Linked DNA regions of Homo sapiens: all the other regions are linked to region 1. Evidence: promoter capture Hi-C in 16 types of primary human blood cells and fetal thymus (Javierre and others, 2016). All regions are on one chromosome and are shown on one strand. The core of a region is centred on a gene start or on the middle of the fragment in contact, and the rest is flanking DNA. Distances in the headings are between cores, read along the strand shown.

What was found. Contacts are between HindIII fragments. The CHiCAGO score rates a contact against its expected background, and 5 or more counts as called.
Region 2: a contact is called between a fragment that was not itself captured here and the fragment with the promoter of FICD in region 1, in 10 of 17 cell types (neutrophils, fetal thymus, monocytes and 7 more). The highest score is 15.0, in neutrophils.
Region 3: a contact is called between a fragment that was not itself captured here and the fragment with the promoter of FICD in region 1, in 1 of 17 cell types (M2 macrophages). The highest score is 5.9, in M2 macrophages.
Region 4: a contact is called between the fragment with the promoter of USP30 here and the fragment with the promoter of FICD in region 1, in 14 of 17 cell types (neutrophils, M2 macrophages, monocytes and 11 more). The highest score is 12.9, in neutrophils.
Region 5: a contact is called between a fragment that was not itself captured here and the fragment with the promoter of FICD in region 1, in 8 of 17 cell types (M2 macrophages, M1 macrophages, endothelial precursors and 5 more). The highest score is 16.3, in M2 macrophages.

What each region holds. Positions count from the first base shown.
Region 1 is chr12:108,513,156-108,518,557 of GRCh38, forward strand. FICD (FIC domain protein adenylyltransferase) reads left to right here and starts at 2,122. Exons shown (of 3, transcript NM_007076.3): 1 at 2,122-2,206; 2 at 3,760-4,118; 3 at 5,245-5,402. The coding sequence starts at 3,818. RefSeq lists a silencer at 1-97 and enhancers at 1,594-1,653, 3,556-4,056, 3,745-3,844, 4,057-4,557. The HindIII fragment of the contact is 9,938 bases long and covers 1-5,402 here.
Region 2 is chr12:109,096,474-109,101,875 of GRCh38, forward strand. It overlaps UNG (uracil DNA glycosylase), which reads left to right and starts at 1,124. Exons shown (of 7, transcript NM_080911.3): 1 at 1,124-1,338; 2 at 1,959-2,165; 3 at 2,716-2,811. The coding sequence starts at 1,207. RefSeq lists a silencer at 1,303-1,692. The HindIII fragment of the contact is 1,375 bases long and covers 2,646-4,020 here.
Region 3 is chr12:107,973,829-107,979,230 of GRCh38, forward strand. No RefSeq gene overlaps it. Among named protein-coding and RNA genes, the nearest start is that of WSCD2, 150 kb to the right of the region's middle. The HindIII fragment of the contact is 6,913 bases long and covers 1-5,402 here.
Region 4 is chr12:109,049,635-109,055,036 of GRCh38, forward strand. USP30 (ubiquitin specific peptidase 30) reads left to right here and starts at 2,942. Exons shown (of 13, transcript NM_032663.5): 1 at 2,942-3,127. The coding sequence starts at 3,045. It overlaps USP30-AS1 (USP30 antisense RNA 1), which reads right to left and starts at 4,331. Exons shown (of 2, transcript NR_038996.1): 1 at 4,052-4,331; 2 at 2,407-3,104. RefSeq lists enhancers at 3,136-3,635, 3,969-4,338. The HindIII fragment of the contact is 28,323 bases long and covers 1-5,402 here.
Region 5 is chr12:107,989,401-107,994,802 of GRCh38, forward strand. No RefSeq gene overlaps it. Among named protein-coding and RNA genes, the nearest start is that of WSCD2, 140 kb to the right of the region's middle. The HindIII fragment of the contact is 3,033 bases long and covers 1,554-4,586 here.

The DNA.
Region 1 (5,402 bases), core at 872-3,371:
CCAGAAGGTAGAGATTGCAGTGAGCCAAGATCACACCACTGCACTCCAGCCTGGGTGACAGAGCAAGACTCTGTCTCAAAAACAAACAAACAAACAAAAAAACAATTAGCCTGTGTGTGCCTGTAGTCCCAGCTACTAGGGAAGCTGAGATGGGAGGATCACTTAAACCCAGGACATGGAGGTTGCAGTGAGCCAAGATCATGCCACTGCACTCCAGCCTGGGCAACAGAGTGAGATCCTATTTCAAAAAAGATAGATAGGTGATAGATAGATAGATAGATAGATAGATAGATAGATAGATAGATAGTTTGCTCTGTGCCAGATGTATAGAATCTCATTTCACCCTCACATAAAACCTTGTGAAGTGGTAATATCATCACACTGTGCACAGTTTACAGAAAAGCCTAGACAGATGATCAACAAGATCAAGTCACTTGCTGAATGTGATTCAGTTTGCAAGGGGCAGAACTGGGATTTGAACCCAGGTCTGTGTGACTCCCAACAGTGACACCCCACAACCACCACCTAGCCCTGCCTCCAAGAGCAATACACGTCACAGAGGAGGTCAGATCTTGAAGCATCAAGCCTTCTGCAAATCCTGAACTGGATGCCAAAAGCAAGGTAGGCTGTTTGTCCCCATTTTACAAGTGGGGAAAGTGAGGCTAGGAGTAACGTGCCCAAGGTGACACGGAGAGTAAATGGCAAAGTCTGAATTTGAGCTCAGGTCTCTTTGACTCCCCAGAATCTGAACTGCTAACTTCTAAATGCTTAGCGTTTCTGGGGCACCTCCCTAGATGTTTAATTTCAGTATTTGTGGATTAAGATGGAGGTTTCCATTCTCTGCTTCAAGGAAAAAATTTCTCTCTGGGAAGCCAAAAGAACTAGCCAGGTCCTTCTGGAGAGGATACAAATTAAAAAGTCAGGGAGAACCGAGGGGGTGGCTTGCGCCTGTAATCTTAGCGCTTTGGGAAGCCGAGATGGAGGGAGAGCTTAAGGTCAAGAGTTCGAGACCAGCCCGGGCGACATAGTGAGACCCGGTCTCTAAAGAAAATAAAAAATCAGAAATAGGTCGGGCGCGATGGCTCACGCCTGTAATCCCAGCACTTTGGGAGGCCGAGGCAGGCGAATCTTCTGAGGTCAGGAGTTCGAGACCAGCCTGGCCAACGTGGTGAAACCCCATCTCTACTAAAAATACACAAATTAGGCGGGCGTGGTGATGCGCGCCTGTAATCCCAGCTACTCGGGAGGCTGAGGCAGGAGAATCGCTTCAACCTGGGAGGCGGAGGTTGCAGTGGGCCAAGATCGTGCCACTTCCCTCCAGCCTGGGCAACAGAGTGCGATTCCGTCTCAAAAAAAAAGAAAGAAAGCAAGACAGAGAGAGAGAAAAAAAAAGAAAGAAAGAAAGAAAAGAAAAGAAAAGAAAATTCGCCGGGCATGGTGGCATGCACCTGTAGTCCCAGCTACTCGGGAGGCTGAGATGGGAGGATTGCTTGAGCCCAGGAGGTGGAGGCTGCAGTGAGCTGCAATTGCTCCACCGCACTCCAGCCTGGGCGACACAACGAGACCCTGTATTTTATAAGAAAAAAAAAAGTTGTTTAAGTCAGGGAGGAAAAGACACAGAGAGGAAAAGAGTAAAGAAGAAGAAGGCGGCAAACTCAGCAGCATGGGGTGGAGGCTAAGAACAGGGGCTGCGCAGTCAAGCAGGCTAACCGGGTGAAGGGGTGAAAAGCATCAGCATCTTCATTTCACAACCGGGAAAAATGAGGCACACGACAGCGGCTCCGGGACGAAGAGACCCGAGGAAAAGACCGCCGTGGAACTTCCAGTTTCCGGGCCCGCCACCTAGTGTGCCCCAAATCCGCACGCCCATCGGGTTTCCAGCACCTGCTCCTCCTGCCTGTGGCCTAGGCCCCGCCCCTCCCGCTGCTTATTGGCTGCTACGTGAACGAGACAAACGCAAGCAACAACCAATGGGAGTGGCCCACGGCGCGTCTTTCCCGGGGAAGCCGACGCGGACGCGGGAACCCGGAAATGCGAGGGAAGGACAAGTGGGGAAAGCCAATCCGCCGCGACGAGGGCTGCGGGCGGTTCAATGGCAAGTCGCCGGGGGCGGGGCCAGAGGCCGGCGGAGAAGGAGGACCCGGGAGCCGGCGGCCCGGAGCTGGGAGCGCGGGGAAGGCGGTTGGGGTTCTGACAGCTGCGCGCGGTGAGAAGGGGAAAAGCCCTAGGGGCTCGAGAGGATGAAGCCGGGAAGGGTGCGACGGGGCCGCGAGCCCTGGGCGGGGTTCGGGAAGGGAGGCTCTGCAGTCTTGGAGGGGACTCAGACCGGTCCCCTCCCCTCTCCGGGCCTCAGTTCTCCCTTTCTAGGGAAGTGTGGGGGAGAGATTCGCGCCTCCCAGAACGCACTCCTTCCCTGCACACACCCCTGGCACCGGCGAACTGCCCCCTTTCCTGTACCGCCCCGCCCAGGAGCCTGTCCCCTCGGGAAGCCCGCCCAGACCCCTGGACCCGCGCAGCACTCCAGGCGCACCCCTATTAAAGCGCACCCCAAGCCATTTCACATGTTCTGTGGCAATGGGCCAGGATCCCCATGAGACTCAGAACCCCGTGATCCATCAGTCATTCCCGGGTCAGGACCAGCCCAGAGCAGGTGCACAGGCCCTGCTTAGTAATAAGGTAGAAATCGAGACCTGGGGACCGGGTTCAGAGGCCCTGGGGTTTCCTTCCGGATGCCTCTGTTTACCTCCTGTGGGCCTTCTGGAATTTAACTTATGCTCTCTGTGTCTTGGTTTCCCTTGTCTGTAAAATGGAGCTAGCGGTAGCTCTTCCTTCATAGGGTGGCATGAGGGTGAAACGAGGCAATGCGTGGCCAGTACACTGCTCAGCACCTAGGACACCATAGTTGCTTAATAAGTGCTTATTGTTAGCATAGTGTTTGCATGCCTGGCCCCACCTCCACTCCCACTGCCAGCCCCAAGCACATACAAGCCATGTTGTCACTGAGGCCAAGCACTGTGGCCCACAGCCTGAGTTCCTTTCGAGATGCTCGAACTGCTCATCTTCTTGATGGGGTCCCTTCTGGACAGGCCAGAAATGGAAGGCCAGAGAGGGGAAGGGCACTGTGGGAGCTGTGGCTGAATATCAGGGTGAGGGCAATAAATGAGGCCACCCAACAATTGTGCTTATCAAAGATTGGGCGTCAGAACTGCTGTGGCTGATCTGCCTGGGTGTCTGTCAGTCATTTATGTCCCAAATGTTTGACATATGTCCACAAATCCAGTGTTTGTGGTCAGAAGCCACAGGGATATATGGGAAGGGGGGACACTTTAGAGCCGTGGGGTTCCTGAGTTCAAGTCCTAAGGCTGTCACTTGCTCCCGGCGAGACTTTCGGCAAGGGACTTCACCTCTCTGAACCTCAGTTCCCTCACCTGGAGAAGGGTGAAAACATCAGCTCAAGTCGTTGAAGATTGCAGGAGGTGACCCATGTGAGGCATTTGGTGCTTAGCACACGGCCTGGATTATGGCAAGTGCTCATTAATTGTTGGACCACAGCAGTGTTTTCACATTCATACTGCCCAGGAGGTGGCACCAGTCCTTCTAGGCTGGCCCCTCCTCTAGTGAGATCCAGTCCTTGACTTGCCCCCACCCCATCTCTCTAGTGAGCTAAAAGAGCAGAAGTCTCCAAACCCATCTTCCCAGCTGAAGTCACACTATGTCCTGAACGTGTCTGTTTCTCCTGCGACTCTTGGCTCCTTGCAGATCCTGCTCTCTCTCAGCCGCCTGTGGACATGCGCAAAGGGCCCTCTCCTGAGTCCAGATGATGCTCATACCAATGGCTTCAGTGATGGCGGTGACTGAACCGAAATGGGTCTCGGTCTGGAGCCGCTTCCTCTGGGTGACGCTGCTGAGCATGGTGCTGGGGTCCCTGCTGGCCCTGCTGCTGCCGCTGGGGGCTGTGGAGGAGCAGTGCTTGGCTGTGCTCAAAGGCCTCTACCTGCTCAGGAGCAAACCGGACAGGGCGCAGCATGCCGCCACCAAGTGCACCAGCCCGTCCACGGAGCTCAGCATCACCTCCAGGGGCGCGACGCTGCTGGTGGCCAAGACCAAGGCCTCTCCAGGTAAGACAGACTGGCCGTCTTCCTCAATGCTTGTTAACTGGATAGACAGACATAGAATGTGTCATGTCCTGTATGTGGGGCATCGGGGTATTGTGAACAAGTCAGCCCTGAGCTCCTAGTATAGACAAGGTGATGTGACTGAGACAGTGTCACAAGTGTGGTGATGGGGAAGCATAAAGGGCTGTAGGAGCATACCAGGAAGGCTCCCTGGAGGAAGTGACACCTGAGCTGGGACCCAGTTGTTAAGTAGGAGTCATCCAGGGTGAAGGGCATCCAAGGAAAAGGACTCCAGGCAGAGACCAGAGGTTAGTTGTCATAACTGACATAACTGTCGTAAGAGAGCCTGGGGGCATTCGAGGAACTAAAGGAAGTTGAATGTGTGGGGCTGATCCTCAGGTGGCCAAGAGGGGCCAGGACAGGAGGGCTAGGGCTAGAGCAGGCTCCCCACCTCCACCAGTTCTCTGTGGTGGGGACTGAAAGTGCATTGTTAGATGGTGGTGGCATCCCTGGCCTCTCCCCATGAGATGCCTGTAGCACTCCCTCCACCTCCTCAGTTATGACAACTAACCAGGTCTCCAGACGTCACCAAATGTCCCCTGGGGCGCACAATCAAACCACTGGGTTAAAAGAGTTAAAGAACAGTCCCGGGATGGTTGACGCCCCCAGGGTCTAGGAAGAGTGGGGAGTTGTTAACGCCTTTGGGCCTCCCGGGGCAGGAACCTGTGTCACCAGCACAAGATGAGCTGGAGATGTAGGAGACGGCCTACACTGGGAGCTGTGGCCCACAGGAAAGGCCCAGCAGAGAGGGCCCAGGCGAAGTAAATGCCTAGAACTTTCTATGTCCAGAAAGCAGGAGGCTAGGAAGCCAAGGAGGTGCCTCCCAGAATACAAGAGAGTGGCTCTGGGGACACACGGATAGTGACTGCATACCACCACACGGCTGGGGCAACAGAGTGGTACCGGGCATGTTGAGTACACACGATGCGGCTGCAACAAGCTCCTCAAGGCCAGGGACACAGGCTGGTCATCATGGTTTCCTGCGGAGACCAGCACAGGGGACAGCCCCCCGAATGTCCTCTGCCCCCTAGCCTCCCTCCCTCACAGCGCTTCTTTGGCTCTCTTCCAGCGGGTAAGTTGGAAGCCAGAGCTGCCCTGAACCAGGCCCTGGAGATGAAGCGCCAGGGCAAGCGGGAAAAAGCCCAAAAGCTCTTCATGCACGCCCTCAAGATGGACCCGGACTTCGTGGACGCGCTCACCGAGTTTGGCATCTTCTCGGAAGAAGAC
Region 2 (5,402 bases), core at 2,083-4,582, 580 kb after region 1:
GGAGGGAAAGAGAATCCTAAGTGTATTAGTAGTGGTGGGAGGAGGTTCGGTACAGTGGTGTCATTTGGAAGACAAATCGTTGGTGTTTAACCTCTATGACCCGAAAGTCTCCCACAAGCCTGATACATTAGGCAAAATGTTTGACTGCACTAAGCCTTAGTTTATCGTCATAAAATAGGCCATGAAAATTGCGTGAGAAAATGTATATAACAGTTCAACAAATAATATTGGCTGGGTGTGGTGGCTCATGCCTGTAATCCCAGCACTTTGGGAGGCCAAGGTGGGCAGATCGCCTGAGGTCAGGAGTTCGAGACCAGACTGGCCAACATGGTGAGATCCCCCATCTCTACTAAAAAAATACAAAACACACTTGGGCAAACATGGTGAAACCCCATTTCTACTAAAAATAGAAAAATTAGCCAGGCGTGGTGGCGCGCGCCTATAATCCTAGCTGAGGCACGAGAATCGCTTGAATCCGGGAGGCGGAGGTTGCAGTGGGCTGAGATCACACCACTGCATTCCAGCCTGGGCGACAGAGCAAGACTCTGTCTCAAAAACAAAATACACACACAAAATATAATAGTATTTGTTTGTTTGTTTGTTTTTGAGATGCCTCGGATTACAGTGCGGGGATTACAGACGTGAGCCATCAAGCCCGGACAATATTATTATATTGTTCATTGCACTCCCACAACACCCCTAAGGGGCAGGAACTTTTCTTCCCAGCCCCCTCCCCCCGACCCCACCGAGAGACAGGGTCTCGCTCTGTCGCCCAGGCCTGGAGTGCATTGGCGCGATCAAAGCTCACTACAGCTCAGACCCTCTGGCCTCAAGCGATCCTCCAGCCTGGGCCTCCCAAAGCGCTAGGATTACAGGCGTGGGCCACCGCGCCTGACCAGTCTTCTCTTCTTGCAGCTGAGCCTTAAGAGCCTGTCCAAAGAGCAGAGGTGGGCTGAAGGCACAAAGCGAATGAAAGAATAGGCCCCCGGGCACCGTTGCACGCCCCACCTCCTCCCAGGGGCGTTGCACTCCAGCCCCTCCCGCACATGCGCACTGGGCCTTCCACCGCCCCCCGCCCCCAGCAAAGCCCCCCGCTCGGAGCATGCGCGGGCCGCTTGGCGCCAATTGCTGACCGCCACAGCCACAGCCAGGGCTAGCCTCGCCGGTTCCCGGGTGGCGCGCGTTCGCTGCCTCCTCAGCTCCAGGATGATCGGCCAGAAGACGCTCTACTCCTTTTTCTCCCCCAGCCCCGCCAGGAAGCGACACGCCCCCAGCCCCGAGCCGGCCGTCCAGGGGACCGGCGTGGCTGGGGTGCCTGAGGAAAGCGGAGATGCGGCGGTGAGGCGCGGCTTGGGCCGGGGCTAGGGGGTGAAGGGGGAGGAAGGCGGTGGGCCCCGCCTGACGGAGGGCGTGCAGGATCGCGCCTCTGACTCGGTAAACCCGGGCTCCGCTTTCCAAATAGCCTCCACGTGTTCAAAATAGCCGCCGCTGTCCCCCATGGGCCGCCATGCTAAAGGGCCAGCCAATGGGAACGCGTCTCGGGGCCCATGGCGCCAATCCGCGCGCCGCAGGCCCTCCTGGCTCGGTGCGCTGTCCAATCAGAGGGGAGAGGGGGCGGGACCCAGAGGGAGGTTTTTTGCCGCGAAAAGACCACGTGGGGACGCGGTGGGGCGGGTCTGGCGGGGGCGGGGCACCTCTGTGCAGGGTTCCCAGTCACCGCGACGCTCCTCGGGAAGCCATAGGGCGCCTCCCAGCCCGTCTCCCCGCTCCAGTTTAGAACCTAATTCCCAATTCCCGGACCGGGCCCAGCCCTGGGCTCTTACTGTCCGCTTTTGCTGGGACCTGTTCCACAAATGGGCGTCTTCTGCCTTGGGCCGTGGGGGTTGGGCCGGAAGCTGCGGACGCCTGGGAAGGGGCCGCTGCAGCTCTTGAGCCGCCTCTGCGGGGACCACTTGCAGGCCATCCCAGCCAAGAAGGCCCCGGCTGGGCAGGAGGAGCCTGGGACGCCGCCCTCCTCGCCGCTGAGTGCCGAGCAGTTGGACCGGATCCAGAGGAACAAGGCCGCGGCCCTGCTCAGACTCGCGGCCCGCAACGTGCCCGTGGGCTTTGGAGAGAGCTGGAAGAAGCACCTCAGCGGGGAGTTCGGGAAACCGTATTTTATCAAGGTAAATATGGAAATGCACCTTCCATAAGGGTAAATGTGGAGGCTGCCGGCCCTTTTGTCTTGTTAGTGTAGCCGGCCAAGTTCATGTTTCCGTAGGCTTAGGTTGTACCCCCTTCAACCTCCTTTACTCACAAAGGGGGTAAAAGAAAGCCATGATGTTTCACTCTGCAGCTTTATATTGGTTAAAGTTGTTAACGACCCGCGAGATGATATCATGGATTCATTTAAGTCACATAGTCTATTGTCCAGGAAAGGCTGGCGTAGTAAAATCACCAACCATCCTGAATGAAACCTGGCTTGAGCTTTAAAAAGCCGAGAGGAGTGGCACTGTCAGGACCCAGCCCAGAGAAAGAGGCAAGGAATTGACCTGATTGAACCACTTAGGTGGGGGGGCAGGCACTGTTTTTGTTTGTTGTTTTTTAAAAGAATTTGGACATAACATGACAAAGAACTAATGATGTTCCAAATAACTTGCACTAGAAGCTTTCTTATTGAATTCTTATGGTTTCCAATGAGAATCTGATTTTAAGTCTAGTTTATCTTTAAATCAGCTAATGGGATTTGTTGCAGAAGAAAGAAAGCATTACACTGTTTATCCACCCCCACACCAAGTCTTCACCTGGACCCAGATGTGTGACATAAAAGATGTAAGTACAACTTGTTGATAATTTTTATTGGGGAGAAGGAGTCAAATAGTATTTTTAAATTAGGGACACTGGAGTTAAGCCACAGTCCATCATTCAGTAGTAAATAAAACACTGAAATCCCGAGGTTTGGCTGACTGTATTTCAGCCTGTATTTACTCTTTTTAATGTTTACCACGTGGTATTTATGTGGCAAAAAGGAAAACTATGTACATCCTGTGCTCTTATTTCTTGTATTTTTTTTAAATCCTGAAACTAACCTCCCGCGGTGTCAGATGTTATGGTGGTGGTGAAGTTCAAACTGACACACAAAGCAGTTAAATCTTTTGCAGCTTGTTATAGTCAACCCCACCTTGACCTGACCACACTGCCTTATAGTTAGCACTTTCAAGCTCTTGACTTCTGGCCTGAACAGTTTTGTGGTTCTGTTATCAGATCCCTTTGCTTTAGTTTGTCTTATATAACAGTTGCTGGTTGGCGGCTCTCATCCATCTTGTGTTCAGAAGTTCGTGGGGCTGGGCACGGTGGCTCATGCCTGTAATCCCAGCACTTTCGGAGGCCAAAGTGGGAGGATCATTTGAGGTCAGGAGTTCAAGACCAATGAAACCTGGTCTCTCCTAAAATACAAAAATTAGCCGGGCATGGTGGCGCACGCCTGTAATTCCAGCTACTTGGGAGGCTGAGGTGGGAGAATCGCATGAGCCCAGGAGGCGGAGGTTGCAGTGAGCTGAGATCACACCACTTCACTCCAGCGTGGGCGACAGAGCCAGACCCTGTCTCAAAACAAAAAAAAAACCGTGGCTTCTCACTGTTGAACTATGAAAGCAGAGCAACCCTCTTTAAATAGGGCCACGTCCTACCTCTCAGCCTTACCTCCACCTCCCACTCTCCCACTCCAGAGTTGGACAGTGTGGCAAACCCCTCCCCACTTCTGTCTCTTAAAAATCAAGTAGATGCCTCTGTGGCACCTCCTTGAATTGAAGTCCGTTGCCTGCCACCTCTGTGATCCAGTTTTCCTCTGAGCTGCTACGATGCATTTAGCACCTGCTGACACTGGACTTTTAGGTTTCTTACCCGTTTTCCTCCCCCGTTTTGTAAACTGGGGCAAGAATCTTGTGATTTAATGAATATCTGTGAAATGACATAGAAGTGAAATAGGTGAATAAATCATCTTGATAAGGCAGCCACACCTAATACTTAGAAAATCTCGTAAGCTTAATTTTAGAGTAAGAATTTAGAATCTAGCTCTTTGGTTTTGAAGCTAAATTAAATCCTATTAAGATCAATACTAATTTGCTTCTTGTTTGAATGCCCTATTCTGAATACCAGTAATCAGTATAAACAGGGAATATTAAAAGGAATATTTTGAGGGAATGCTCAAAAACCAGTTTCAAACCTATGAGGATCAGATGGGCCAGCAGGGCTTCTTGACAGACCAGCATTGGGAGAGTTGTTTCACAAGAGAATATGTTGGCATGGTGTGAACACCAAGGGGAGGGACAAGAGGTCCCCAAAAGCCTCCTGGTCATGGAACATCTGGAGCTGGATTCTGAAAGATAGAGTATGTCAGCTGTGGAGGAAGATTCTAAGAACGCAATGGCAGAAGCTTGAGAATGAAGACTAGGTGGGTGGGCCCTGGATGGGAAGGACGAGGCGGCCTATGTTTCAACACCTCCCGTGACAGGAACTTCATTTCATTTCATTGTCTCTTGCCACCTACTCCCATGGCCCTTTTGATCTGACCTCATTCTCTTCTGGCTCCACCTGTTAGAGGATATAGGGGAGCAGACACCCTCATATGCTGCTGGTGGGAAATCTGAATTGCTTTTTTTTTTTTTTTTTTTTTTTTTTTTTGAGATGGAGTGCAGTGGTGCAATCTCGGCTTACTGCAACCTCCACCCCCTGGGTTCAAGCGATTCTCCTGCCTCAGCCTCCCGAGTAGCTGGGACTACAGGTGTGCGCCACCACACCCAGCTAATTTTTGTATTTTTAGTAGAGATGGGGTTTCACCATGTTGGCCAGATGGTTTCGATATCTTGACCTCGTGATCTGCCTACCTCGGCCTCCCAAAGTGCTGGGATTACAGGCGTGAGCCACCATGCCAGGCCCTAAATTGCTTTAATTCATCGAAAAGTAACTGGGGGCTAGGCACAGTGGCTCATGCCTGTAATCCCAGCATTTTGGGAGGCCGAGGAGGGAGGATCCCTTGATCTCAGGAATTTGAGACCAGCCTCAGCAACATAAGGGAGGCCGTGTGTCTACAAAAAGTAAAAAAAAAATTAGGTGGGCATAGTGGTGCACTCCTGTGGGCCCAGCTACTCTGGAGGCTCAGGTGGGAGGACCACTTGAGCCCAGGAGGGCGAGGCTGCCATGAGCTGTGATGGCACCACTGCACATCAGCCTGAGCAACACAGCAAAACCGTGTCTCAAAAAATTAAAAAAGCAGCTAGGTACATATCTTTACAAGTTTAAAATACGCTTAGCCTTTGACCAGCAACTCTGCTATTAGCAATCTATGCCATAGAAGTGTTTTATTTGTTTTGTTTATGTTTGTTTGAGGCAGGGTCTGTGCTGCTTACATTACAGTATTGTTT
Region 3 (5,402 bases), core at 1,083-3,582, 540 kb before region 1:
AAGTGTACATTTCAATTATTTTTAGTATATTTACACAGTTGTGCTACCATTACAAGAATCAATTTTAGAACATTCTTATCACCCCATAAAGAAACCCCATGCTGTTAACAGTCACTCCCCAACTTCCTCCATCCCCTGACAACCACTAATCTACTTTCTGTCTCTATAGATTTGCCCATTCTGAATATTTTGTATAAATGGAATCTTATAATATGCAGTCTTTTGTCTGCTTTCTTTCAATTAGCATAATATTTTCAAGGTTCATCCATGTTGTAGCATGTATCAGTTCTTCATTCCTTTTGATGGCTGAATAATATTCCATTGCATGGACATACCACATTTTATTTATTTGTTAATCAGTTAATAAGTATTTGGATTATTCCCACTTTTTGATATTATGAATGGTGCTGTTATGATTATTTGTGCACAGGTTTTTATGTGGACATATGTTTTTATTTCACTTGGTAAAATAACTATAAGTGTAGTTGTTAAGTGATACAGTCACTGTACATTTAACCTTTGGAAGCAAAGTACCTTCTGGACTAGCTGTCCCATTTTACATTTCTACCAACAATGTATAAGGGTTTTAATATATCCATGTCCTCCCCAACACTTATTATTACCTGCCTTTTAAATTAAAGCCACTCTTGTGTGTGTAAATTTTGTCCTAGTATGGTTTTAATTTGCATTTCCCTGATGACTAACAATGTTGAGCATAATTTCATGTGCTTATTTCATATCTTCTTTGGAGAAATGTCTATTCAGATCCTTTGCCCGTTTTTAATTGGCTTATTTACCTTTTCATTATTGAATTCTAAGAGTTCTTTACATATTTTGGAAGTAAGTCCCTTAACAGATACAAGATTTGCAAATATTTTTCTCCTATTCTGTGGTTTGTCTTTTCAGTTTCTTGACGGCATTCTTTAAAGCAAAAATATCTTAATTTTGATAAAGTCCAATTAATTTACATTTTTTATAACTTCTGCTTTTGGTATTGAATTTAAGACATCAAATCTGAGGTTGTGAAGATTGTTTTCTTCTAATAATTGTATAGTTTTAGCCCTTATGTCTAGATCTGTAAAACATTTTGAGTTAGCTTTTGTGTTTAGTATACTGTAGGGGATCAATTTCATTCTTTTGCATGTGAATATCCATTTGTCTCAGCACTATTTGTAGAAAATATTATTGTTTTTTCATTGAATGACCTTGGCACTCATGTCAAAAATCAATCAGCCATTTTCAAGTACACAGTACATTAACTATAGTCACCATTATGATGCAGGACAAGTGAGCCCCAAAACTGGGGCTTAGCCCAGGAAGGTTTTTGGCTTTGCCCAGGCAAGAATTCAAGGGTGAGCTGGTGGTGTTGGATGGCAACTTTTATTAAAGCAGCAGTGCACAGCAGCAGCGGAGGGACTGCTCCTTGTGGAGCAGGGTTACCCCATAGGCAGTGTGCCCAGAGCAGCAGCTCAGAGGCAGGTCTGCAGTCACATTTACACCCATTTTAATTATATGCAAATTAAGGGGTGGATTATGCAGAAATTTCTAGAAAATGAGTGGTATCTTCCTGATTGCTGGGTTGTTGCCATGGACAGGGGTGATAACTTCCAGGTGCTGCCCTGGCAATGGTAAACTGACATGGCACTGGTGGGCATGTCTTATGGAGAGGTGCTTTTTTTTTTTTTTTGAGACAGGGTCTCACTATGTTGTCCAGGCTGGAGTGTAATGGTGCGAACTCGGCTCACTTGAGCCTCCACTTCCCAGGCTCAAGCAATCCTCCCATCTCAGCCTCCTGAGTAGCTAGGACTACAGGTGTGCACCACCACACCTGGCTAATTTTTGTATTTTTTTCTAGAGATGGGTTTTCGCTATGTTTCCCTGGCTGGTCTCAAACTCCTGGGCTCAAGTAATCCGCCTGCCTTGCCCTCCCAAAGTGCTGGGATTACAGATGTGAGCCACTGTGCCCCACCTGGAGAGATACTTTCACTTCTTCCCTGTTTCAGCTAGTCTTCAATATGGTCCAGAGTCCAAGCTCCACCTCCAGAGTCAGTTGAGTCCCGCCTCCTACCTCAATTATGTACAATAAATCTCTTGAACTTATTCCAATCAATTAATCAATCAGTAAACAATCACTTGGCCAAAATATAAGGTTTATTTCTGGATTCTCAATTTTATTCCATTGATCTATATGCCTATATTTTACTACTACCCTGTCTTGGTCTCTGTAGCTTTGTAGTAAGTTTTAATTGGAACTTGTGAGTCCTCCAATATTGTTCTTTTTTAAGATCATTCTCCCTATTCTAATCTCCTTGCATTTCCATATGAAACTTAGTATCAGCCTGCCAATTTCTGCAAGGAAAAAAAGCCAGTTGATATTTTGATAGGTATTGCATTTAATCTGTAAATCAATTTGAGGATTATTGCCTTCTTAAAAATCATAAATCAACATGAGATCTTTCCATTTATTTAGGTTCTCTTTAGTTTCTTTCAACAATATCTTACAGTTAATGGACTGTCTTTTGCATCCTGGGGTAGAGGCTACCTGCTTTGATCATCTCTGGTTCAGGGATTTAGGCACATTCATGAGGCTAATTCTATTACTTGCTGTACAATATTTTCTTTAGCCACCCTTTACTTGACAGCAACTAAGATGGCTCTCAGTGTGACTCTTGGCAGGTAGGAGGATGAGCTGGACCTTCTGCTGAGTGTGCTATATTTCTTATCCATCACTACTGATGATGATGATGATTAGATGAGTACTATGCTAAGTGTTTGTTTTTGTTTTTTTAATCCATGATCTCATTTTATCTTCAAAACATCCCAGTGAGGTAGGAATGATTACCTCTGTTTTGCAGATGGAAAAATTGAGCTTCAGGGAAGCACACATCTAAAAAAGGAGCAGAGCATGTAGTTGAACCAGGTATCTTGACATCCAACTCTGGCCACTTCCAGGCCACCCCAGTATGCCATCTCCCAGGTGGGTGTCAAATTTTGCCAATGAACTGTCTTTCCATTCCCTTTCAGTTGTACCGAAGACATAATAGTTACAGAGTACAGGGCATATAACTTGGCCCTGACTTGCTAGAGTCTCCTCTTCAAATTACCAAAACAGAAGCTGGTTGTATTCTTAGCAGCTGCTTCTGATTTCCATTCTTGGACCAAAATTTTTGTTCAAGAACCAGAAACTTGTTCGACTCATAAAACTCATCAGACCTCATGGGAGGATTGGACTATATGTATGTTCCAGGATGGAGCCCACCAGAATTACTGAAACAGAATCCCTGGGGTGAGCAGGAGTTAAAAGGAGCCTAGGATTTTGAATTTTAATAAGAACTTCAAGTAGTTTATGATCCATCTAATCCAGAAGACATGAGTAATGGAACCCACCCACCCATCCATCATTTTATTCCTTCATCCATCCATCCATCTCCTCATCTTTAAGATTGGGATAGTACTAGTACCCAGCTTATATGGTACATAAGTCAAATGAAGATATATGTAGGACATGCTTAAGAGTGCCTGGTATGTTGTGAGAGCTGATTAAGACTTACACGTGGGCATCTCCTATGGTCCTGGCTTTTTTCTGGTTATTAAAGACACATTAGAAACAGGCAAGGCCTTGTCCTTCTGGTAATGACCATCTAGCTGGAATGAGGACAAATTTGGGCATCAGATCAAACGGGGTTCAACTCTTGCCTCTGCCACCAGCACTGAACATGGACACACCACTGTACTTCCCTGGATCCATTTTATCAAATATAAAGTGAGAATAATGATAGAGTTACTATTTAATAATAATCAGAATTAAATAAGATAATATATATAAACTGCTTCACTACATATTAAAAGATACTTTATTTATTTTTCCTTCTTCACTGATAACTTAAAAAAAGTAGGTAATAGTAGTAATAATAATGATGTTTGCCATGGATTGAATACTTACTATGTGCCAAGTGCTTTACATTCATTCTCAATTCATACGAAGAAGAATAAGAAAGTAAGTACTTACATGGGGCTTATCACACATCAGGCATTGTTCTAAGCACCTTATGATATTAATTAACTCATTGCATGATCACAACTACCTTATGAAGTAGGGATAATTATTATCCCTATTTTATAATAAAGGAGGCTGAGGCTCAGAGAGGCACAGCAAATTGCCTAAGGTCGCACAGCTAGTAAGTGGCAGAGCTGGGATTTAAATCCATATCTCTTTTTAATCTGGGGATGTTAATATTTAACTGCCATGTTATGTGGCTTCCCACAGAAAGGTGGCTAAACACCCACAGGAAATTGGTGGAAAGGATTCCAAACTAATTGAGAGCTTCAATCACCACACCTGCAAATTGAAGCATGTTCCATGGAGCCCCTGTGGAAATTCTCTTGTGACAAAAAGATATGTCCAGACTTACCTAATTTCCCCTCAACTTTGCACAGAGCCAGCTTTGCCAAGTTCTCCTGCCATGCAGGAATCTAGAGAGCCCCTTGGAGGGATTTAATTTCCCTAATCTCGCCAAGCACAAGGAGAGTGTGGGAGACATGAAAGGCACCAGTTATTTATTTCATGAATAGATAACGGCAAGCCATTTAGAGGGAGCAGTGGCAGGAAGATGAAAAAGCTATTAATGCAGTCGGAAGCTCATTTCTTTCAGAGTGGTCAGCAGCAGCGGAGAGGACAAAAATAAGAAAATATTGCAATGGCTGCTCAAGACAACACAAATTATTCAGGAGATACTAAAGTGCATTGTTCACCATCGTAAACATTTTTTTAAATGTTTATGAGCTCTGTTCAAAGGCATCTTGATGGATGAAACCCAATAACCTTTATGGGGGGTGTGCATGTACAAGTGTGTGTGTGTGTGTGTGTGTGTGTGTGTACTTGCATTTATTTTGTTCTAGTTTCCTAGTATTCTTTGTAAATCCTTTCTTTGAGCTGATCCACTCAGCAGTGGATAGACTGGGTCTACATAATGTAAAGAAGTCCGTGCTCCCTAGTTCCCTGAGCAGTTGTCCTGTTCTTGGTGTCCGCTGTGCTACAGATGAGGCTCTGGGAAGCTGGGAGCTGATTTGAAGCAGACTAATAGAAGCAAAAAAAAAAAATTGCTCTGATTCTGGGAGGAGTGAAATGAGGCCGAGTGTAGAGATGAGATGTGGCAGTATTTCCTTGCATGTGTTGGGAATTGTATGTCCCTATCCAAAGCGGGGCCTACCAGGACAAGATTTGGGGAATACTTGCACCACCGAGCCCTGTGAGAGATTCATAATGTATGGGATCTTGTTTGAGGCTGTGTGATTCTTGAAGAAAAATGATCCCTTTAACATAGCTTAGTCCACTTTTTCCAATCATTGACCATAGCGCAGCACCTGTAAAACTCTAATTCCATAGAGAATTCTTTCTGAAA
Region 4 (5,402 bases), core at 1,692-4,191, 540 kb after region 1:
TGGAACCCCATCTCTACTAAAAACGCTAAAATTAGCCAGGCATGGTGGCGCGTGCCTGTAATTCCAGCTATTTGGGTGGCTGAGGCACGAAAATCGCTTGAACCCCAGGAGGTGGAGGTTGCAGTGAGCCAAGATTGCGCCACTGCACTCCAGCCTGCATGACAGAGTGAGGCATTATTGCAAAAAAGAAAAGAAAAAAAAAAGTTTGAAATATTACAAGAATTACCAGGATGTGGTACAGAGACACGAAGTGAGCACATGCTGTTGAAAATGGTGCCAATAGACTTGCTGTAGTCAGGTAGCCACAAACCTTGAACTTGTAAAAATGCAGTATCTTCGAAGCACAATAAAGTGAAGTGCAATAAAACAAGATATGCCGGGCGGGGCACGGTGGCTCACACCTGTAATCCCAGAACTTTGGGAGGCCAAGGTGGGTGGATCACAAGGTCAGGAGTTCAAGAGCAGCCTGGCCAATATGGTGAAACCCTGTCTCTACTAAAAATACAAAAATTAACTGGGCGTGGTGGCGGGAGCCTGTAGTCCCAGCTACTCGGGAGGCTGAGACAGGAGAATCACTTGAACCCGGGAGGCGGAGCTTGCAGTGAGCTGAGATCACGCCACTGCACTCCAGCCTGGGCCACAGAGCGAGCCTCCATCTCAAAAACAAACAACAACAACAAAAAAACAAGATATACCTATATACCTCAATTTTAAGGAAACAAAAATTCTCAATTTTAATTTCTAACAGAGTACAGTTAGATATAAACAAAATCCCTCAATCCTTTTTAAGCGTACAAAGAGATCCGGAGAACAAAAACTTTGAGAACTACTGATCTAATGCATTGATTTCTTTTGTTTTGTTTCTGTAGTTGGGGCTACAGGTATGCGACACCACCCCCAGCATGAATGCAATTACTCAGTCTGGAGTCGGAGAAAGCGATTGAAAGGGAGGGAAAAATCTTGCTGGCTCTAATGCTTTATAAACTGTGCTGTCCAATACGGTAGCTGCTGGCCACTTGGGGCTATTGAGCACATGAAAAGTGGGTACTCCAAACTGAGAGGTACTTAGTACCAAAAAACAAAAAAATAATGGGCCGGGCGCGGTGGCTCACACCTGTAATCCCAACACTTTGGGAGCCCGAGGCGGATGGATCACGAGGTCAGGAGTTCAAGCAGCCTGACCAACATGGTGAAACCCCGTCTCTACTAAAAATACAAAAAAATTAGCCGGGCGTGGTGGTGTGCACCTGTAATCCCAGCTACTCAGGAGGCTGAGGCAGGATAATCGCTTGAACCTGAGAGGCGAGATCGTGCCATTGCACTGCAGCCTGGGCGGCAGAGCAAGACTCCATCTCAAAAAAAAAAGAATGTAAATTATCTCATCAATAATTTTCACATAGAAATGACATATTTTGTTTTTCTTTTCTTTGTTTTTCGGTAGCCATGGGTTCTTGCTATGTTGCCCAGGTGGCCTTGGACTCTGGGCCTGAAGCCATCCTCTCACCTGGCCTCCCAAAGTGCTGGGATTATAGGCATAAGCCACTGCACCTGCCCCAATATTTTGAACATATTGGGTCAAGGAAAAAATATGGTTAAAATTAATTTTACCTCTTGCTTTTTTTTTTTTTTTTTTTTTTTTTGATGCTGAATCTCTCTCTGTTGCCCAGGCTGGAGTGCAGTGGTGTGATCTCAGCTCACTGCAGCCTCCGCCTCCCAGGTTCTAGCGATTCTCCCGCCTCAGCCTCCCGAGTAGCTGGGATTACAGGCACGCGCCACCACACCTGGCTGATTTTTGTATTTTTTAGTAGAGACGGGGTTTCACCATATTGGCCATGCTGGTCTCGAACTCCTGACCTCAAGCAATCCGTGCCCCCCACCCCCACCCCCCGGCCTCCCAAAGTGCTGGGATTACAAGTATGAGCCATCGCACCTGACCTCTTTTTTTTTTTTTTTGAGATGGAGTCTGGTTCTGTCACCCAGGCTGGAATGCAGTGGCATGATCTTGGCTCAGTGCAACCTCCACCACCACGGTTCAAGCAATTCTCCTGCCTCAGCCTCCTGAGTAGCTGGAATTACAGGAGCCTGCCACCACGCCCGGCTAATTTTTGTATTTTTAGTAGAGATGGGGTTTCACCATGTTGGCCAAGCTGGTCTCGAACTCTTGACCTCAGGTGATCCACCAGCCTCGTTCTCCCAAAGTGCTGGGATTACAGGCGTGAGCCACGGCGTCTGGCCTACCTCCTGCTTTTCACTTTAATGTGGCTACTGGAAAATGTAAAATTACCTATGTGGCTCCTGTATATTTCTGTTGGAGAGTGCCATTCTGGAGACAGACAGACCGAACTGCCAATCTCTGTTTCACCACTTACAAGCTGCGTCAAAAAACTTACTATTTCTTCAAATTTCCTGGGTTCCCTGGGATGTAAAATGTGGGTAATGTTAGAGTTGGTGTGAATATTAAATGTAAATAATGAATGTAACATACTTAGCTCTATACCTGGCACCCAAGTAAACAATAAGTTTGTTGGCTATTAAAGACGTTGATTTCTCTACTGATATCGTCAGAGATGGGCCTCATGCTCATTAAAGTTCCTTCCTCTGCGACCTATTTCCACTCTGGCCACAATAATAACTAATTATAGCAGAGGCCTGACCCGACTTTCGGCTGTTGGCCTCCCTTCCCCACATCGAAAAATTCAAATCATGACCCAGGGTCCATCCTAGAAGTGTGCCATCTGTATTTATGAATGGAGCCTAAGCAAATCTGAAAACCAAGCAGCCCCAGGCAACTGAGCCCAGCGTAGCAACCGACGCCGGGGCCTGTTGCTAAGGGAAAAGAAAGAAAGGACGTGGTCCGTCAGCTATTGCTCTCCGGGGGCAGCTACTTCCGGTCCCCCTGGGAGCTGTCCTGCGGTCTACGTTCCCCCGAGGTGCTGGGACTGCGGCCGCAGGTTCCGCTGTCTCGGGAACCGTCGTATCCCTCGGTCCGGCGGCGGCGGCGGCGGTAGCGGAGGAGACGGTTTCAGGCCTCCGGTGCGGCTGCAATGCTGAGCTCCCGGGCCGAGGCGGCGATGACCGCGGCCGACAGGGCCATCCAGCGCTTCCTGCGGACCGGGGCGGCCGTCAGGTGAGATTTTGGGGGGCGGGGCTGCCGAAGAGGCCGGGACCAGGGTCCCCAGCTTGGGCCCGTGACGGCTTTTTCATGCCCTAGTTGGGGTCTCCAGGGCCCGCGCGGGCATTCTGGAAGGTTCTGCGTCCTTTAGGGTTGGAGGCCTGGGCCCGTAGGTGGGAGGACTGACGGGCTCCAGTCCTTCGGCAACACCAATTCTGTCTGCACTCCCCAGGTCTGTCAGTCCCTCCCCCTCCTGTCATTGTTCCCAGGACACCCGGGGCACTCCAGTCTTGTCAAGGCCCCTAATTCTGTCAGTGCCCTCAGTCCTTTCAGTGCCTCCTAGGCCTGCCAAGACCCCTCAATCCTTCTAGTATACCCCCAGTCCTTCTGGGTCCCCCAATCATATCAGTTTCTGGACTGCCAGGGTTCCCCAACCTTGGCACGGTTCTTCTAGTCCTATAAGTGCCCCGGGCCTGCGAGCCCCGCGTTTTGTTAGTACCGCCCCCTATTCCTGTTAGCCCGCCCTCTAGTCTAATATGGATCGCCACTTCTGTCTGGGTCCCTGATGTTGTTAGTGTGAGTAAAGGCCCTTGTTTTGCAAGGGTCTCTAAATTGGTCAGGGCCCCTTTAACCTGTTAAGGTTGCTTGGTCCTGTTAAAGCCCTCCGTTCTTGTTAGGACTCCTCGATTGCCTGGGTCCCCAATCCTGTCAGGGCCCCCATTTCCCTCTTATTCACCCTCCCAAGGGCTCCAGGCTTCAGAACTGAGTACCCCCTCCCCCACTGCTGACCCCAAATGACTGAGACCTGTTGCTCAGGTCGGCTTCCTCTGGAACTGGAGCAGGTTTAAAGAGCTTATTATCCCAGGGCTGAAAGTCCTCGATACTTATCCTGTCCAGTGCCCCCATTCCGTAGATAGGAAGTGTGGCCCCATAGCTGACCTCATAGCAGAGTTGGGAGGAGAAGCCAGATCTTTTCATCCGCAGGCCCCACCACTCTCCTCGTGATGTCATTTTGCAGAGGAATGGAGTTTCCAAAGTCGCCACTTGTCCCTGGGTATTTTTTCCTTATGCTGCCAAAGTCATGGACAAGTCCTCTCTCCCATCCCCTTGACACTCTTCCCTTCAGTTTCCATCTTGAACTTCGTGGTTTTAAGCACAGACCTGGGGAGACAGACAGGCATGATTCAGAGCCATGTTCCTTCACTCACTGTGACCAAGTTGGGCTCTTAGTTTCTTCTGCTATAAAAATGAAAGTGATAGTAGAACCTGCATCTGTGGGGTTGTTTTAAAAATGAGGTAAGATTGTCACAGGGCCTGGCAGAGAGTATGTACCCTTAAATATTAGTGTTTGATTAGGGGATTTTAAAGCACTGGTAAAGCACCTTAGCACTTCCATGACAGTCCTTTATAATCTTTCCAGGCACTTTTGTGAACTCACGTATCGTGTAAAAGCACAGTGATGTATTAAGAAACTTCAAGAATACCTTTCACCAGCTGGGCATGGTGGCTCACACCTGTAATCCCAGCTCTTTGGAAGGCTGAGGCAGGTGGATTTCTTGAGCTCAGGAGTTCGAGACCAGCCTGGGCAATGTAGTGAGACCCTGTCTCTACAAAAAAATTTAAAAATTACCTGGGCATGTGGTGTGCAGCTGTGGTCCCAGCTACTTGGGAGGCTGAGGCAGGAGGATCACCTGAGCCCGGAAGGTGAAGATTGTGTTGAGCTGAGATGGCACCACTGCACTCCAGCCTGGGCACTAGAGCAACTAGAGCAAGACACTGTCTCAAAAAAAAATAAAAATAAAAATAAGAAAAAAAGAAAGAATAGCTTTCATGAATGATCCTGAGATTGTAATGCTTAATTTGTAGCAGCTAACATTTATTAAGTTCTTACTATGTACTGTATGCATTCACACTTATTTAATCCTCACAACAGCCCTATGAGGTAGGTCTTATGGATTGTCCCCATTGTACAGATGAGGAAACTGAGGCTTAGAAGGTGAAGTGATGCCAAATGAAATAGCAAAGCCAGGATTGAACCAGAATAAGGTAATCCCACTTTCTTAACCAAGTTTGGTGCATATTCTGTTGACTCTGTCTTGGAAAACAAATATTTATCTGAAATTCAGCTATCAGCTATGATACTAAGAAATGCTGATTATTATAAAACAGGGTCAATATTACCACCAGTGACTCTTCACCAAGTTAATGTTTACTGAACTGAAATCAAAACAATATTCACATGATCCAAATACTGGGATAATAATGTATTACACACACACACACACAAACA
Region 5 (5,402 bases), core at 1,820-4,319, 520 kb before region 1:
TGAGCTAAGTGTAAAGCCGTTAGTGCAGTACCTGGAACAGAGTTAAGTGTTTAATAAACACTGGTGCTTATTGATTCTCAGCAAATTTCACCATTAACAACTGAAGTCTATTGAGAATGACCAATTCATGAATTTGTTCCATGTCTGTACCTGACACAGATATTAGTTACTGTTCACTTCTAATCCACTTCCAAGAAAATCTTGTAACTGGAAATAGTTACTCCTTTACCTAACCTGGAAATGGGAACTTGTTCTTCCAGCACTCTCTCTGATTCCCCTCAAGTCTGATTCATTATCAGGAGGTGCTGCTCAAAGTCTCTTGGTTAGCTTGCCTCATTCATTCATTCATTCATTCAACCACTTACCCTAAGTCATAGCCTGTAATACACACAGAGATGCAAGAAATAGCCCCTGCCTCCCAGAGCTCATTGTCTAGTGGTGGAGGGAAGGAAGAGAAAAACAGTGACACCTCTGAGATCAGGGAAATGGGCAGGAAGCTGAGATCAGGGAAGGAAACTATGCCGTCTAAGGGAAGACGTAAAAAGAAAAGAAATAGCCAAGCAGTAGAATAGGGAGTGGAGAGACTGCCTCAGCTCAAGAATGTCCCAAGCCTGGGAACTGCAAATAGTTCAGTATTGCAGGAAAGATGTGTTAAAAGAAAAACCTTAGCTGAATTAAATTTAACAGAGTATAATTGAGCAAAGGATGATTTGTGAATGGGGCAGCCTCTTGAGCCAGAGGAGGCTCAGAGAGACTCCAGTGCAGCCAGGTAGTGGAAGAGTTACAGACAGAAAAAGGAAAGTGATGTAAAGAAAATTGAAGTGAGGTACAGGAACAGCCAGATTGGTTAGAGCTTGGCGTCTGCCTTATTTGAACACGATTTGAACAGTTGGCCACCTTTGATTGGCCAAAAACTCGGTGATTGACACAAGAGTAGACTACAGTCTGTTTACAACTCCATTTAGGTTATAGTTCACAAAGTATAGGGCAACCTTTAGGACAAACTTAAAATATGTAAGGAGGCAGCTTTAGGCTAAACCTGATCTAACAGGTGTATTTTGGTGAAAACATACAGGGAGAGGTGAAGTAGGAAAGCCAGCAGGGGGCACACACAGACCAAGAAAACCTGTCGAAGAGCCTGGTCCCAAGGGCAAATGGGGAGCCATTGAAGGCTAGCAGGGGAGGAGTGAACAGACTCGTTCTTTGGAAAGATGACACTGGCTGCTGGGGCTCCTAAACTAGGAGACTAGTTTAGGAAGCTGAACTGGTCATTCAACTCTAAAGTAGGGCAGTGGCATGAAGTGAATAGATTGAGATATATTTAAGGAGCATAAGCAACAGGACATGGGGACTGAGTGAGGGAGAGGAGCAGCATGGCTGCTAAGAATGACCCTGGGTAACTAGGCAGACAGTGGATGGAGCATTTTTGTAGGGTGTGGAGTATGTGTGGCAGAAATGTTCGTAACTATTAGCTGGCTCTTCTCCACCAGGCCACACATCTCTTTAAGTCAAATTTAAGAAGTGCTATTGATCTTGCTAGTAATTCTTACAGAAGCTTGAACCAGGGTGATAATTACCTGAAGAAGTAAGTTGGGCAAATTCCCCTGAAGGTATACTCTTGAAAGATAAGAAATAAGTCCACAGCCATTACCTACTCTTAGAGCTACCTTTTGTGATTACTTTTATATCTGGTAACAATTAGGAGCAGATGAGTTATTGGAGTATACATTCAGAAGATGCTCAACTTTCTGCACAATCTTGACACTCAATACAACAAGATGTATTCATCCCCTGCTCTGTATCACTTGCTTCTCTCAATGGGTTGAACCAGGTAAACATGGCTCTTGCCCTCATGAAACTTCCATTCTAACATAGAGTTCTGGTATCTTCTAAATGAAGTACTAAACCCTCCTTTCCTGTAGGGGTGCCTGAACAAGAATAAGAGTGTTATCAGTTAGGCATCACTGTATAACAAAATGTACTCAAAACCTAGTGGCTTAAAATAACAACCATTTCATTTGCTTAAAATGTTGCCATTGACAATTTAAGCTGGGCTCAGCTAGGTGGTTCTTATTATCTTGGCTGGGCATATTCTTGCATCTATGTTCAGCTATGTTGGGTAGGCCACTTTACTGATCCTGACTAGGCTGTCACACGTTTGAGGGCCTCAGCTGGGATAACTGTTCTGAATGGACTCTGGTCCACACGTGTCTCATCCTCCCATAGACTAGCCCAGGCTCTTCATGTGGCAGCTGGGAAGGTATCCCAGAGAGAATGAAAGTATACACAGTCTCTTGAGGTCTAGGCTTGAAACTGACATAATATCACTTCTGCCATGTTCTACTGGCCAAAGCTAGTCACAAGGTCCAGTCCAGATTCAGGCAGTGAGGAAGTAGGCTCCATTCCTTGATGGAAGCACTAGCAGAGTCTCATTGCAAGGGCCATGGGCACAGGGAAAGGAAGAATTGGGGTAATTTTGGCAATATACTCCAAGGACTCATCTGCTCCTAATTATTACCAGATGCAAAAGTAATCACAAAAGAGAGCTCTAAGAGTAGGTGATGGCAATGGACCTATTTCTTATCTTTTAAGCCAAACAGGAGACTTATTAAGACCTGCTCTTTCCCATAAGGGAATTTTCAGTGTCCCTTTTGGCTGCTGGGTCAGTCAACTTTTTCTATTTTAGTTTTCTGACTGTAGCTATCCTCTCCTTTTCAACCCCCAGGACAACAGCCTATGGTTCTCAGCACAGATGTCAAAGAAATGAAATGTCAGCGGAGTTCACTGTGACCCTAGAGGCCATTGCCTCCCCCCTCACTCTCCCATCTCCTCACAGTTGCCTTCAGCAGGGCTGGTCTCCACTATTAATAAACCTTCCCCTTCAGCACTTTCTCTCAAGGGGACAGTATCAGAAAGACTCCCATCTATCTTCCAGCCTGACTCCTGCCAGGCTGGTGAGAAGGTCTTCTGACGTGGAGATAAGAAATCCCAGACATGACTGCTGTGTAGGGGAAGCTCAGGAGTTCCATTTTCCTTATGAAAGGTCAAATCACTTCTTTTGCAGTGTTTGGAAAGAAAAAAGCTAACATAATGTGCTTTCTAAATGCCAATGATCTTGACATCCCTGATAAAGAGAAGTCAATGAAGGAAGAGAGTGGCTCAGTAGGAGAGCTGACTTCTAAGTGCCAGTGGAAGAAGTAAAACATTTTTAATAACTCACGTTAAAGGCTGTGGTTAATTCCATCCTGGGTTGTGGTAATGTAATTATTGCTGCTTTAAAAAAATCCTGCATGTTTGCAGTGAATATATTATATTTTATTGCAACAGTAATAGCTCTCCCTCAAGAGGCTGAGGAGGCAGGCAGGCCAGTCACAAACTGGTCCTATCAACTTTTCATTCCTTCTTTCCTTAATCACTAATCTGTTGAGTGGTCACTGTGTGCCTGGAACTGAGCTGGGATATAAAAGAGGTAACCAGCACAGCATTCGGCTCTTAAGGAACTCACAGTCTAATTGGAGAGCATGACCAGTCAACAGACAATCCTATAGAAAGTGATGCATGCTACCCCAGGAAGTGCAAGATGTTATGGCAGCATCCCCATTGGAGGGTATGGGGAATCATCTCCTGCAGTTCCTTCCTCAAGCAGTAGAGGCTCCATGAAGTTATGAGCTAAGTCCAGCACATTTGCTACTGGTATGCCTGGTGCCTGGCACTTAGAGGGAGCTCGTTCCTGTTTGCTGGTTGATTTGCTGGTGTGAATCCTATATTCTCCTTCCACAGGGCCATCACCCTTATGCAAACATTCCAAGCAGTTTTACAAATGTGACTTGGAAAATGTGCCTTAGAAAATACTGCTGTTTCTGTCTGGAACGTCTTTTTCACCATTTAGCACCTGGAAAACTTTTATGCACCCTTCAAGACTTAGACCAAATGCCCTCTCTTTTGCAATATATTTTCAGATTTACTGAGCAGAATTTATCCTCTCTTCATAATGGCTCTAAGCATCTTGTTTATATATCAAGTTTGCTTCTTATCGAAGGACTTTCTTATTGTAATTATTATTTTTTTTCCTTTGGAATACTTAAAATTGCATTTTATTTTCTGCCTCTATAGAGAGTAGCTTATGCCTTTTTTCTTTTATTATTATTTTTGATCAACACATAATAATTGTATGTATTTATGGGATACAGTGCGATATTTCAGTACATGTATACAATGAGTAATGATCAAATCAAAAGAATTAAGATATTCATCACCTCAAACATTTATTATTTCTTTGTGTTGAGATCATTTGAAATCTGCTCTTCTAGCTATCTGAAAATATACAATAAATTGCTTTTAATTATAGTCACTCTACAATGCTATAGAACATTGGAACTTATTCCTCCTATCTAGCTTGTAGTTTTGTATTTGTTACACAAATTTTAGCTACCTCCCCAGGTCCCCTCCACCCTTCCCCACCACCAGTAACCACTATTCTACTCTTTACTTTTCTGTAGTCAACTGTTTTAGCTTCTGTATGAGTGAAAACATGCAGTATTTATATTTATGTTACTGGTTTATTCCATTTAACATAATGTCCTCCAAGCTTATCCATGTTACTATGAATGACAGAATTTCATTATTTTTTATGTCTGAATAGTATTCCATTGTGTATATATCACATTTCCATTATCCAGTCATCTATTAATGGCACTTAAGTTGAGTCTATACCTTGGCTATTGTGAATAATGAAGCAGTAAACATGGGAGTGCAGACATTTCTTTGACATACCGATTTCCTTTACTTTGGATATATACCCAGTAGTGGGATTGCTGGATCATATGGTAGTTCTACTTTTAGTTTTTTGAGGAATCTCCATATTTTTGTTTTCTATAATGGCTATACTAATTTATTTTCCCACGAACAATGTATAAGAGCTCCCCTTTCTCTGCATCCTCTCCAGCATTTATTATTTTTTGTCTTTTTGATAATAGCTATTCTAACTGGGGTAAGATGATATCTCATTGTGGTTTTGATTTGCATTTCCTTGATGAAAAGTGATGTTGGCATTTTTTTTCATATACTCGGTGGCCATTTGTATGTCTTCCTTTGAGAGATGTTTATTTAGATCATTTGCCCATTTCTAAATTGAATTATTTGTTTCTTTTTTTGGTGTTGAGCTGTTTGAGTTTCTTATATATTCTAAATATTAATTCCTTGTTGTATACTTGCTAATATTTTCTCCCATTCTGCAGTTTTTCTCTTCACCCTGTTGATTCTTTCTTTTGCTGTGCAGAAGCTTTTAGTTTGATATAATCCCATTTGTCTATTTTTGCTTTTGTTGCTTTATGCTTTGGAAGTATTCTTCATGAAATATTTTCCCAGACCAATGTCCCGAAGCATTTCCCCCTATGTTTTCT